Regions from separate parts of the Homo sapiens genome. Here region 2 is linked to region 1. Evidence: promoter capture Hi-C in 16 types of primary human blood cells and fetal thymus (Javierre and others, 2016). All regions are on one chromosome and are shown on one strand. The core of a region is centred on a gene start or on the middle of the fragment in contact, and the rest is flanking DNA. Distances in the headings are between cores, read along the strand shown.

Region 1 (5,415 bases), core at 1,884-4,383:
GTGTGAGATTGTTTTAGTTTTGCAAATCACTTTAATATCTGACAGTAGAAGACTGCTGGATTCTTCTCTGCTTCTGAATCTTCTGCATTCAGCCTGTTGTGAGATCACGTATCTTGCAGCCTCTGGAAAACACTGCACACAGAGTGCAGTGTTGGGAGAAATTGACATATCATTGCTATAAAAATAGTTCTGAAGTCAGGTGTGGTGGCTTATGCCTGTAATCCGTGCACTTCAAGAGGCTGAGGTGGGAGGATCACTCGAGCTCAGGAGTTTGAGACCAGCCTGGGCAACAAGGTGAGACCCTGTCTCTACAAAACTTAAAAATTAGCTGGGCATGGTGGTGCATGCTTGTGGTTCTAGCTACCGGGGAGGCTGAGGTGGGAGGATTACTGCAGCCCAGGAGTTCGAGGCTACAGTGAGCTTTGATGGCACTACTGCACTCCAGCCTGGGCGACAGAGCAGGACCCTGTCTAAAAAAGTTTTGACTTTTGGGTCCCTTGAGTCTTGGGGCTCCCTCTGCTCGACCAAGGTCCCTAGAGAACCACTGTTTTGAGAACCACTGTTGTGGCCTGAGGCTAAGGTAATTTCAATGGTGATGGTGTTGAGGCCCAGGTGATGTTTGTGACCTTCTCCGGTGTTCCCATCGCACCTGTCCTGCTGCTGCTTATGTTTGTGAACCTGGCCAAGTTGGGAGTCTCTTGAAGGAAGACACTCAACTTTATTCACCTTTCTTTCAATTTAAATGAGTGTTTTAATGATAAAAGTAACATAGAGGCCAGGCGTGGTGGCTCATGCCTGTAATCCCAGCACTTTGGGAGGCTGAGGCAGGCGCATCACTGGAGGTTGGGAGTTTGAGACCACCCTGACCAACATGGAGAAACCCTGTCTCTATTAAAAATACAAAATTAGCTGAGCATGGTGGCGCATGCCTGTAATCCCAGCTACTCTGGAGGTTGAGGCAGGAGAATCGCTTGAACCCGGGAGGCAGAGGTTGCGGTGAGCCGAGATTGCGCCATTGAACTCCAGCCTGGACAACAAGAGTGAAACTCCATCTCAAAAAAACAAAACAAAAAAAAAACCAAAAAACAACAACAAAAACAGCTATATTATAGAAAATAGGCAATTAAAAAAAACTCACTTATAATCCCCCATACGTCATTTATTTGGTGTATGTTATCAGTCTATTTTTTTTTTTTTTGAGGTGGAGTCTTGCTCTTGTCACCCAAGCTGGAGTGCAGTGGTGCGATATTGGCTCACTGCAACCTCTGCCCGCTGGGTTCAAGCAATTCTCTTGCCTCAGCCTTCCAAGTAGCTGAGACCTCAGGCGCCTGCCACCTTGCCCACCTAATTTTTATATTTTTAGTGGAGACGGGGTTTTGTCATGCTGGCCAGGCTGGTCTCGAACTCCTGGCTTCAAGTGATCTGCCCACCTTGGCCTCCCAAAGTGCTAGGATTGACAGGCGTGAACCACTGCACCCGGCCTGTATCGGTCTTTTTTAAAATGCAGTTTTTTTAGCCTATCATCTCACCTCATAAATGAACACCATAATTTTGGGTATTGCCCCCTCTATCTAGCAATGGGTGATTTTCTGTTTCTGATGTCTACAACTACCATAATGTTCCACTGTGTAGATGTAACACAATTTACTAAATACCCAATATTAGCACATGTAGGATGCTCCCAATTTTTTGTTGTAGTTAAGTACAGTGATCCTGTGAAGAATACCTTCACACATACAGCTTTTCTGGCATTTAGTGTTATTTCCTTAGAACAGATTCCCAGAAGTAAGATCACTGGGTCAAAAGATGCAGACATTTTTATGGCTTTTAATACATACTGTAAAATTGCTTTTCGAAAGGAATATACTAATTTACAATGCCACCAGCACTTCTTTTAAGAATCCGTTTCTCCACACAAATCGTCAACATAGGTGCTATTAAGAATGCTAATCGATAAAATATTGTCCCGCCGTTGTTAAAATTTTGCAATTTTTGAGGCTCATAAAATTAAAGTTTCTTGAAGAATGAGTGTGTAACACAAAACATTCTTTTGGGACATCTTTATTTCTGGAAAACCTAAGACATTCTTACTTGTGAAGACCAGAAAAAGAACACATGTTGTTAGGATTGGCACAGAATTCAGTGTGACAGTCAATCTTAATGCCAGAACACTTGAACGAGGATTTTTCACTTATTTTGCTAGTTGTCACCAACAGTAGCAAAAGGAAAAATAAAATGCGGAAGAATGAAATGTTCTTACTGCAAACCGTACAAGATCACATTGAGGGGCTGGAGCTCTTACATTCAACTTTTCTTTCCTTTTTCTTCTTTTTAAACAATTTGCGATTGCAGCCTCTCCTTTTGTTTCCGGTATTACCTGCCCAGGAGCAGAATTCCTTACTTTCTCCGGAGAGAGGCCGGTCCCTGGGAGCGCTGCCCAGCCACCCGCACGCCTAGCCGCCCCGAGAGCCGCACTCGGCGGACCCGGTTCCTAGGCTCGTTCCCGGGGCACCTGGCGGGCGCCCACCTCCCGGGGGGCACGTGCTCCCGTACGCAGCGCGAGGGCAGCGGGTGCCTGGCTATTTATTAGGAAAAGCCCCGCGCGGACTCTCCGGATTGAGGAGGGTGGGAAACTCGGCTGCCCAGCGCTCCACCCGGGCGGCCGGGGCTGGCGCTTCTCTGCTTTCGGCCGGCGGCCTCATCCTGGGACAGGCAACCATGAGTCATCCGCTCCGCGGGTCACATGGGCAACGTGACCAAAATAAAGTTTCGGTATTTTAAGCCGCCAGAAAAGGGGACAACGGAGCTCACCGGGGGCGGGCACAGGAGGCGGGCGCAGGCGGGCGGCGCCGGGGCCGTGGGGACGCGGCGCCGAGGGGGCGGGGCCTGGCGGGAGGCTCGCCCCTCCCCCACGGCCGGCAGCGACGCCCGGACTCCTAGGCAGTCGGACTCCAGGGCGCGGCACCCCTGCGGACCTCAGCCCCGAGGCCCCCCGCGTCCGGCTCCCCACCGGCAGCGGCGGCGGGCTGCGGGATCCCGGAGATCCCGGCGCGTCCCCCACAGCCACCGGGACCCCACGCGCCAGCAGCGGCTTCCCCGGGAACGTCCTTCAGCCCCGGGAGCACGCGGGAAAAGCCCCAGCGTGCCAATGAGGGAGCGCCTTCCTCATGACGGTCACGCTCGGGGGCGGGGCTTCCCTTCGCCGCTCCCGAGTTCCGGGAACCCCCTTTGATTGGTCTGGACGGCCTGGGAAACACTGTAGTGACGCCCAATCAAAACGCCACGTCTCGGCCTCGAGGAAATATTCCGTGTCGGGCCCGTCCTGATTGGACAGTTCTTTCGGGTTCTGGCCACTAGGAAGCTTTGTTTAGGTCCGGAAGGCGGGCTTTCCTGGGAGTGGGTGGGGAGGGGGCGTTGATTCTTGACCAATCCTTTCAGTCCGTTGGGTGGTGACCAGCCAATGGGCCGGATGGATAGGACGCTCCTCCCGGAGAGTAGTGAGACCCCTGGTGCGGGGCGATTGGCGGCGGGAGCGATGAGTGGCAGCCGCACGGCCCAACGGGAGCTGTGCGTGGGCCGCGGGGCGGGGCCAGGGCGGGTGCGCGGCGGCGGCGGGGTGGCTGGGCCGGCGGCGGCGGCGGTACGAGGCGCGCGCTCGGGGTCCCGGTCGCGAGGAGGAGGAGGATGTGGCGCGCGGAGGGGAAATGGCTGCCGAAAACAAGCCGGAAGGTAAGAGCCGGAGCGCGAGGGGCTGGGGGGCGGCGCGGCGGGCGGCGGGACCCGGCCCCGCCGGACATCCCGGGCATCGGCGGCGCCGGGCGGGAGCGCGGGGGCGCGGCGGGCGGGCGGGCGGGCGACCCGGCCGGGGAGGGGGCCGGCGGGGTGGGGGGGCGGAGCGCGGCCGAGTCCTGAGGTGACTCGCGGGGCCGGCGGAGCGCGGCGCCCCACACCCCACCCCCGGGGGCGGGCTGGGGCCGGAGGGGGCGGGGGGCTCGCGGGGCGGGGACCGGGCCCAGCGAGGAGGAGGAGCCGGCGGAGGGCCGGCGCCTCCCCCACCCGGACCGGGCATCCCCGCCGCTCCCGAGCCCGCTGCGCGGCCCCCGCACCCCCGGCGCTGGGTCCACGGTGGGGGCCGCGGGGCGGAAAGTTTATCCGCCTCGGGTCCTCCTGGCCCCGCGCCCCACTGCTCCGGGCCGGTCCCCGTCGGGCGGCAGCGGCCGGCGCTCAGCCCTCGCCGGCCCCCTGCTCTCCGGCGGGCAGGGCCAGATGTACTCTCTCCGGCACCCTCTTCAGCCCCGTGGACACCTCCCTGAGCGGGCGGGGGGTCCCCGAGCTTCTCCCCGCCAGGGGGACCCCGTCCTGCCGAGCGTCCCTCGGCCGAAGGGCCTCGTGTGACCCCTCCCCCTTCGCTTCCCGGGAAGGGAAGGGGGCCTGCGCAGCATCCCCGCCCCTCGCAGTCGTTCACATCCTACTCTTGCCCTTGCACCCTCACAGCCAGGAGGGTGGGGTCTCCGTTTCTATGGCAAGTGAGGATCTCCACACTCCCTTGCCCTTTACCTTCCGTGACCCCGATCCTTCCTTGGCACAGGGGTCCGTCTGATCTGCTCATCTTCTTTGGATTCTTTTGGGGCCTCTGCACACTCTCCGTTGACCCTTTTTGCCAGGACAAGGGGACTCAGGCTGCCCATGTTCTTCTTTCCTCACCCAGTGGATAGTGGGGGCTTGTGCAGCTCTGAAGTCATTTCTAAATAGGAAAGCAGACACTTCTTCCAGATCATGCATACTCTTACACTTTGCTGGGTTAGGGCGAGCTCATTTCCTAAATACCCTTTGAGTTGCCCTCCTTTTCTTATGGAGACAACTGGACGTTCACCGTGCTCCTTTCGCCATTTGTGTGTCTACACTGACTTGTTCTCTCTTCTCGGAGTTCCTTGTCTGGGTGAGAGTGGGCGCCCCAATAAGATGTAGGGCAGGGCTTCCATTGTGCCTAGTGCTTGAGTGAAAAGGGGCCACACTAGTTGCTCCTGTGTCTGAGGAAGACCGGGGTATATTTTTGCCTCCACTTGACTCTTGTGTCTCAGGAGGGGGCAACCTTCATCAGTTGACACTACCTCACTGGGAAAAGGGTCATGTGGCCTTGTTTTTTGATGTTTTGATTACTGTCTTCTGTGCAGTGAGAACCAGACTTTGTCCGTCCCACACTCAAGAGTCCTTGAACCTTTCCTGGATATAAACTTCCCGATTGTTTTTTGAGAGAACTCATATCCTCCTCTGTGGCTTCTGCTTCGCAGTCAGCCATATTTAGTGAGCCTGTTACTTTGACTTTTTCTAATTTTCTCAAATTGTATTCATGTTGGCTGGGTAAGGAGAAGCCATATGCCTTTCCATTCAGAAAAGGGAGTGTAGACACCCGTG
Region 2 (5,415 bases), core at 1,711-4,210, 2.9 Mb before region 1:
AAATTATGGTGCATAACTGTGTGCCCCAAAACTCATACATTTATCTCTATCTCAATATTTCCCATAATATCTAGCCTAGAGGAGGCATATTTGGTGAAAGAATGAAAATATTTCTATTAAGACAGTTATATTTTTTATTTCTTTACCCTCAGATTTTCTCTTTTGATATCATTTTCTGTGTGTTTTTATTTATTTAAAAAATTAATGGCATATGTTGGATAAAAAAAACATTGGAAAAACCCAACTGTAGATTTTAACTGAAGTTTATGTCTAAGACAAAACTGACCTTTTAGAGCATAAGGAAAGTGTGATGGTGAATCCCTGAGAATAATGTTAACTGAGTAGAGACAGAATCTTGTAAAAGGTGTTAAGAAAGCCAGAGAGCTACAGGAATATGTTTATCATCTACGGTTTCAAATGCCGTGGTGAAGTTCAGACCTGAATAAAATTTGCAGCTGTGACGCGGAGGCGGGCAGAAGAATCTCCAGTTCTGGTGAGCAAAACGGGAATGGTCCTCTCCACACAGTGAGCTGTTTCAAGTTTACTCAGTTTATGTTTAGGAATATATTGTGTAATGATCATTTTCAACAATTTCAAAGAAGCCTGAAAAACCTAAGAGAAAAGTGATGAACACGGATGAGTTACTACGGTGCAATTCCACCAAGAGGAAACATGGCATTTACTATCAGTAACACATACGAACATTATATCGAAAATGACATCTCGTCTGAAAGGCTGAAAATTGCAAACTGAAAACTGCTTTCTAAACACAGCACCTTGCATATAGAGGACATATGCTCTTACTTCACTCTGTCAGAAATCACTCCCCATCTTCCCTTCATACCGAGTATCTAACATCCCTGCTTCAATGGGTAAGCCCAAATCTTCCCTTCATACCGAGTATCTAACATCCCTGCTTCAATGGGTAAGCCCAAATCTTCCCTTCATACCGAGTATCTAACAACCCTGCTTCAATGGGTAAGCCCAAATCTTCCCTTCATACCGAGTATCTAACATCCCTGCTTCAATGGGTAAGCCCAAATCTTCCCTTCATACTGAGTATCTAACAGCCCTGCTTCAGTGGGCTGTTAGAAGCCCAACTGTGCAATGTCCATTCTTAAGGCCCATTCAGCATTAGAAAAAACAGTAATTCTCAACCTCATCAGGTTTCATGCAAAGTGAAAACACAAACTGAAGATGTGGTAGCATTGAACTAGGCCTCTACAAACGCCTGGCTTTGCAGACCATGGAAAAGCTAACACTGCTGGAGACCAGAGACAATGACCCAAGCAAAGGCAGATTTCCCAGACCCTTCATGTAAGATCAGTTGCACAGTATAGCTCTTGCTAGAGAACCTCATTTCTTAGTGATTCTATTGAGTTACAGTTGGTGACCACGTCAATGACCAACTGGTCCTCTCTCAAGCTGCTCTGGTCTTCTGTGGTACGGCGCATGATCTCATCCATGCACGCTGGAGCCAGCGCCAGCTGAGGGCACTCACGGAGGTCACAATGTCCTTTATGGCTCTTCTAACGAGAAAGACGGATGCTCTCAGTGTGTTCTTTAAATCTTCTTTTGGGGTTCCAACAGGCATTTCCATTAACTTCTTAGACAAGGCAAGCAGTGCATCCTCTCGGTAGGACCACGTCTTACAATAGGCCTCAGCAACCTACCACAAAACAGGCAGCATTTCATGGCATCACACAACCATCCTCCAACACTACACAACTTGAAGGCTTTGTTTTTTTTTTAACTAAAATGATTCATTTCTAAGAACAGAACTTTTATAAATGAAAATGATTCATTTCTAATAATAGAACTTTTACAAATAAATATGTATATTTAGAGAAATAATTTTCTCTGATAAGGAAATTTAAGACTATGTTAAAATATAAAAAGTATTAAATTCTCCAAGAGAAATATTTTAAAGCTGAGAACGAGGGAAAACCCTACTCATTTCTTTTTATTTTGAGACAAACTCTCACTCTGTCGCCCAGGCTGGAGTGCAGTGGCTCGGCTCACTGCAACCTCTGTCCCCCTGCGGGTTCAAGCAATTCTCCTGCCTCAGTCTTCCAGCTAGCTGGGATTACAGGTGCCTGACACCATGCCCAGCTAATTTTTGTATTTTTAGTAGAGATGGGGTTTCACCATCTTGGCCAGGCTGGTCTTGAACTCCTGACCTCGTGATCCACCCGCCTTGGCCTCCCAAAGTGCTGGGATTATAGGCGTGAGCCACTGCGCCTGGCCAACTCTACTCATTTCTATAAGGAGATACTTCCATCTTTTGCTATGCCATCCTTTTGCGCTGGAATTAGCTGGTATTCAGAAGGGAGCAGTTGTTTAATACAAGCTCCATGAATGCCAGAAGGAAACACCCAGGCTGAAATGAGTACTCACTGATACATCTTAGCTCATGTTTTTGCTGTTTCACATAATTTATAATTTACAGAAGGGCAGGCACGGTGGCTAATGTTTGTAATTCCAGCACTTTGGGAGGCCAAGGCCAGGAGTTCAAGGCTATAGTGAGTTATGATCACGCCACTGTACTCCACCCTGGGTGACAGAGTGACACTCTGTTTCATAAAAAAAAAAAAAAGGCCGGGCGCAGTGGCTCATGCCTGTAATCCCAGCACTTTGGGAGGCCAAGGTGAGTGGATCACAAGATCAGGAGATCGAGACCATCCTGGCTAACGTGGTGAAACTCTATCTCTACTAAAAAAAAATTACAAAAAATTAGCCAGGCGTGGTGGCGGGCACCTGTAGTCTCAGCTACTCAGGAGGCTGAGGTAGGAGAACAGGGTGAAGCCAGGAGGCGGAGCTTGCAGTGAGCGGAGATCTTGCCACTGCACTCCAGCCTGGGTGAAGAGCAAGACTCCGTCTCAAAAAAAAAAAAAAAAAAAGTTAACAAAAGACTTTCCAATTCAGGAAGAACAAAGGGAAGTCAACAATATTACAAATGCAAAGCCGTGGGCGTTTTCCCTCCTTTATGTGTAAGTACACAGAGGTGTGCGTACCATATAGACTAGCCTCCCCTCTGCCACCCCGTTTTTTTTTTTTTTTTTTTTTTTTACCAAGGTTTCTCCCAACACATCGATGGCAGAGCTGGCTTCTCTCAAGGCCTTCTCGGTTAAGGGCTCTGGCTCCCCTAACATGCCTCCCCTCCGAGCATCGCTGATGTCTGCATTACTCATTTCCGGCTCCACCACTGCCTCCCCATAATGCTTACGAATAGCTGGAAGAGGCCGCTCATCGTAGGGCAGGGACTCTGCCTGCAGTGAGTGAAGGAGAGAGGAAAGTGCTGGGGAGCTCCATAGGTCACATTCTCCAGTGCAACTCTCACTGGCAGGCTTACTGCGCTTACTTACCTGATCTGAAAGATGTTATTTTGCTAAATATCAGTATCATCAGATTAGAATAATTTATACAACAAATAGGATGTAATTGAAAAGATTAGATGAGGCTTTCTATTACTTTCTAAACTCATTACAGACCTAATAAAAAAAAGCAAGGTAGATTCCACCTCAATGACTGTTTACTGGTAGCAATTTCAGTTCAACTGACATGGAGACTACTAAAGTAAAGGCTATTACATCTTTTTTTCTGACAAGATCTCTGATATTTTCTTAGTTTATTGCTTAGAAATAAGCATCAAGCCTGATTTTAATAAACATGCTCACAAGGTGTCATTAGGCCTATTCCTTATGTGGCTATGCTCTCACTCAGCACTATGGCTCCTAGAATGGAACAGAGGTGGGTCTGGCTGGGGAGCACTCATGCACCCCATGCATGGGAACAGCACCTGGCACAACACATGTCCTTTACAAATACCCAAATAAATTGAACGCCAATCTGAAACAGAATTACCTACATTGATCTTTGGATGAGGATCTGTGGCAGGGAGTAACGGGTCTACTGCAGAATGCTGAGGAGAAATAGTTAGAGAATATGATGAAGGCTTTTCCTGAAGGAAAGGTTCTGCAAACTGGTTTTCTGTTCCTCTTTCTTCCAGTTGTGGTAGTGAGGGCATTGGCTTTTGGTGGCAAGGACTGCCAGAACGAGCGAGGGGCTGGAGGGGCAAATCAAAAGGTCTTCGCATCTAGAGAACAAAAAGGAACATTTAATTTCAAATGCCACTGCCACGCCAGATATATCTATCTCATTCCTTCAGATGAATAAGACTTTAGAAAGCTGTGCTGGAAGAGGCTCCTTGGCACAATGAAAAATTTCAAAACCAAAGAGAAACTTCCACAGAGTGAAATCTACTTGAAAGTCCCACACAATCAAGTTGCACTCATCTCAGTTGTCTCTCCACATTTCTGTGTTGACTACAAAAGTGACATACACATCCAAAATGCTAGTGAAGGAATGAGCATTTGTGCATGGAGCATGTCCACACATATGTGCCCCTGCAGGAGCACGGTGGTGTGGAGAAAGCACCTGGGCTGGACCCAAGTGGACTTTTATTCAAAATCTGGCACTGCTATTCACTGTGTGTACAAAGGAAAGTGATGTTGTGTCATCCCAACAAGCAAAGCTGACTGACCAGTTGCTGCACACTAGGCATGGTACTGAGTGTTTTGGACAGGTAGGCTCATTAATGCTTACTCTGTTTACCCCCATTTGAAAGCTGATGGAAAACTGAGGCATAAAGCTGATAAGAATTAGTCTGTGATCACAGAGCTGGAATGGTGGTGCCCGGATTTGAACCCAGACAGTCCAGCTCCAGAGTGTGCTCTCTTGTTTTTCAGAGGCAGGGTCTCGCTCCATCACCAAGGCTGGAGTGCAGTGGTGCGATCGTAGCTCACTGCAGCCTCGAACTTCTGGGCCCAAGTGATCCTCCTGTCTCACTCTCCTGAGTAGCTAGGACTACAGGTGTGTGCCACCAGGCCTGGCTATTACTTACTTTTTGTAGAGACAGGGTCTCTCTATGTTGCCCAGGCTGGTCTCGAACTCCTGGGCTCAAACAATCCTCCAGCCTTGGCCTCCCAAAGTGATGGGATTACAGGCGTGAGCCACCATGCCTGGCCTTGAGAGTGTGCACTCTCAATCACTATTCCGTATCTCAGAACCTTCATTTCCTAATCTGTAACGTGGGCTGAGTGCCCCATTTGCATGAGTTCTAAAATCAGAGGCAGAGCACCTTATGGGAAATATGTTCTCAATACACCGAAGCTGTTAGCATTACGTTCTCACTTGATCCTTACAACACTGAGGGGTCAGTGGGGCAGGGTCATCACTGCCTTTTCCAAATAAGGAAGCAGCTGGAGAGATGAAGGGATGCAGCAGAAAAGCAGCAGGGCCTCGGTTTTCCTGACCCCGGTTTGTTCCCTTTCCCACGACTGTGAGTCTCCTGAAAGAACATGCTGAGGCAAAGCCTCCCTGACGTAGGCACAGAGCTGAGGCCATCCATAACTG

What was found. The method cuts DNA at HindIII sites, captures the fragments that hold promoters and counts their contacts. A CHiCAGO score of 5 or more calls a contact.
Region 2: a contact is called between a fragment that was not itself captured here and the fragment with the promoter of CAMTA1-DT in region 1, in 1 of 17 cell types (neutrophils). The highest score is 5.3, in neutrophils.

Annotation. Positions count from the first base shown.
Region 1 is chr1:6,781,847-6,787,261 of GRCh38, forward strand. CAMTA1-DT (CAMTA1 divergent transcript) reads right to left here and starts at 3,134. Exons shown (of 3, transcript NR_149049.1): 1 at 2,812-3,134; 2 at 2,303-2,377; 3 at 2,046-2,199. It overlaps CAMTA1 (calmodulin binding transcription activator 1), which reads left to right and starts at 3,608. Exons shown (of 23, transcript NM_015215.4): 1 at 3,608-3,729. The coding sequence starts at 3,685. RefSeq lists enhancers at 1,974-2,650, 2,651-3,325 and silencers at 2,451-2,510, 2,591-2,650, 2,781-3,190, 3,531-3,690, 3,901-4,170 and 1 more. The HindIII fragment of the contact is 4,377 bases long and covers 1-3,359 here.
Region 2 is chr1:3,833,424-3,838,838 of GRCh38, forward strand. It overlaps CEP104 (centrosomal protein 104), which reads right to left. Exons shown (of 22, transcript NM_014704.4): 9 at 3,869-4,096; 10 at 3,072-3,269; 11 at 1,502-1,669; 12 at 439-612. Among named protein-coding and RNA genes, the nearest start is that of CEP104, 21 kb to the right of the region's middle. RefSeq lists an enhancer at 5,414-5,415. The HindIII fragment of the contact is 6,071 bases long and covers 1-5,415 here.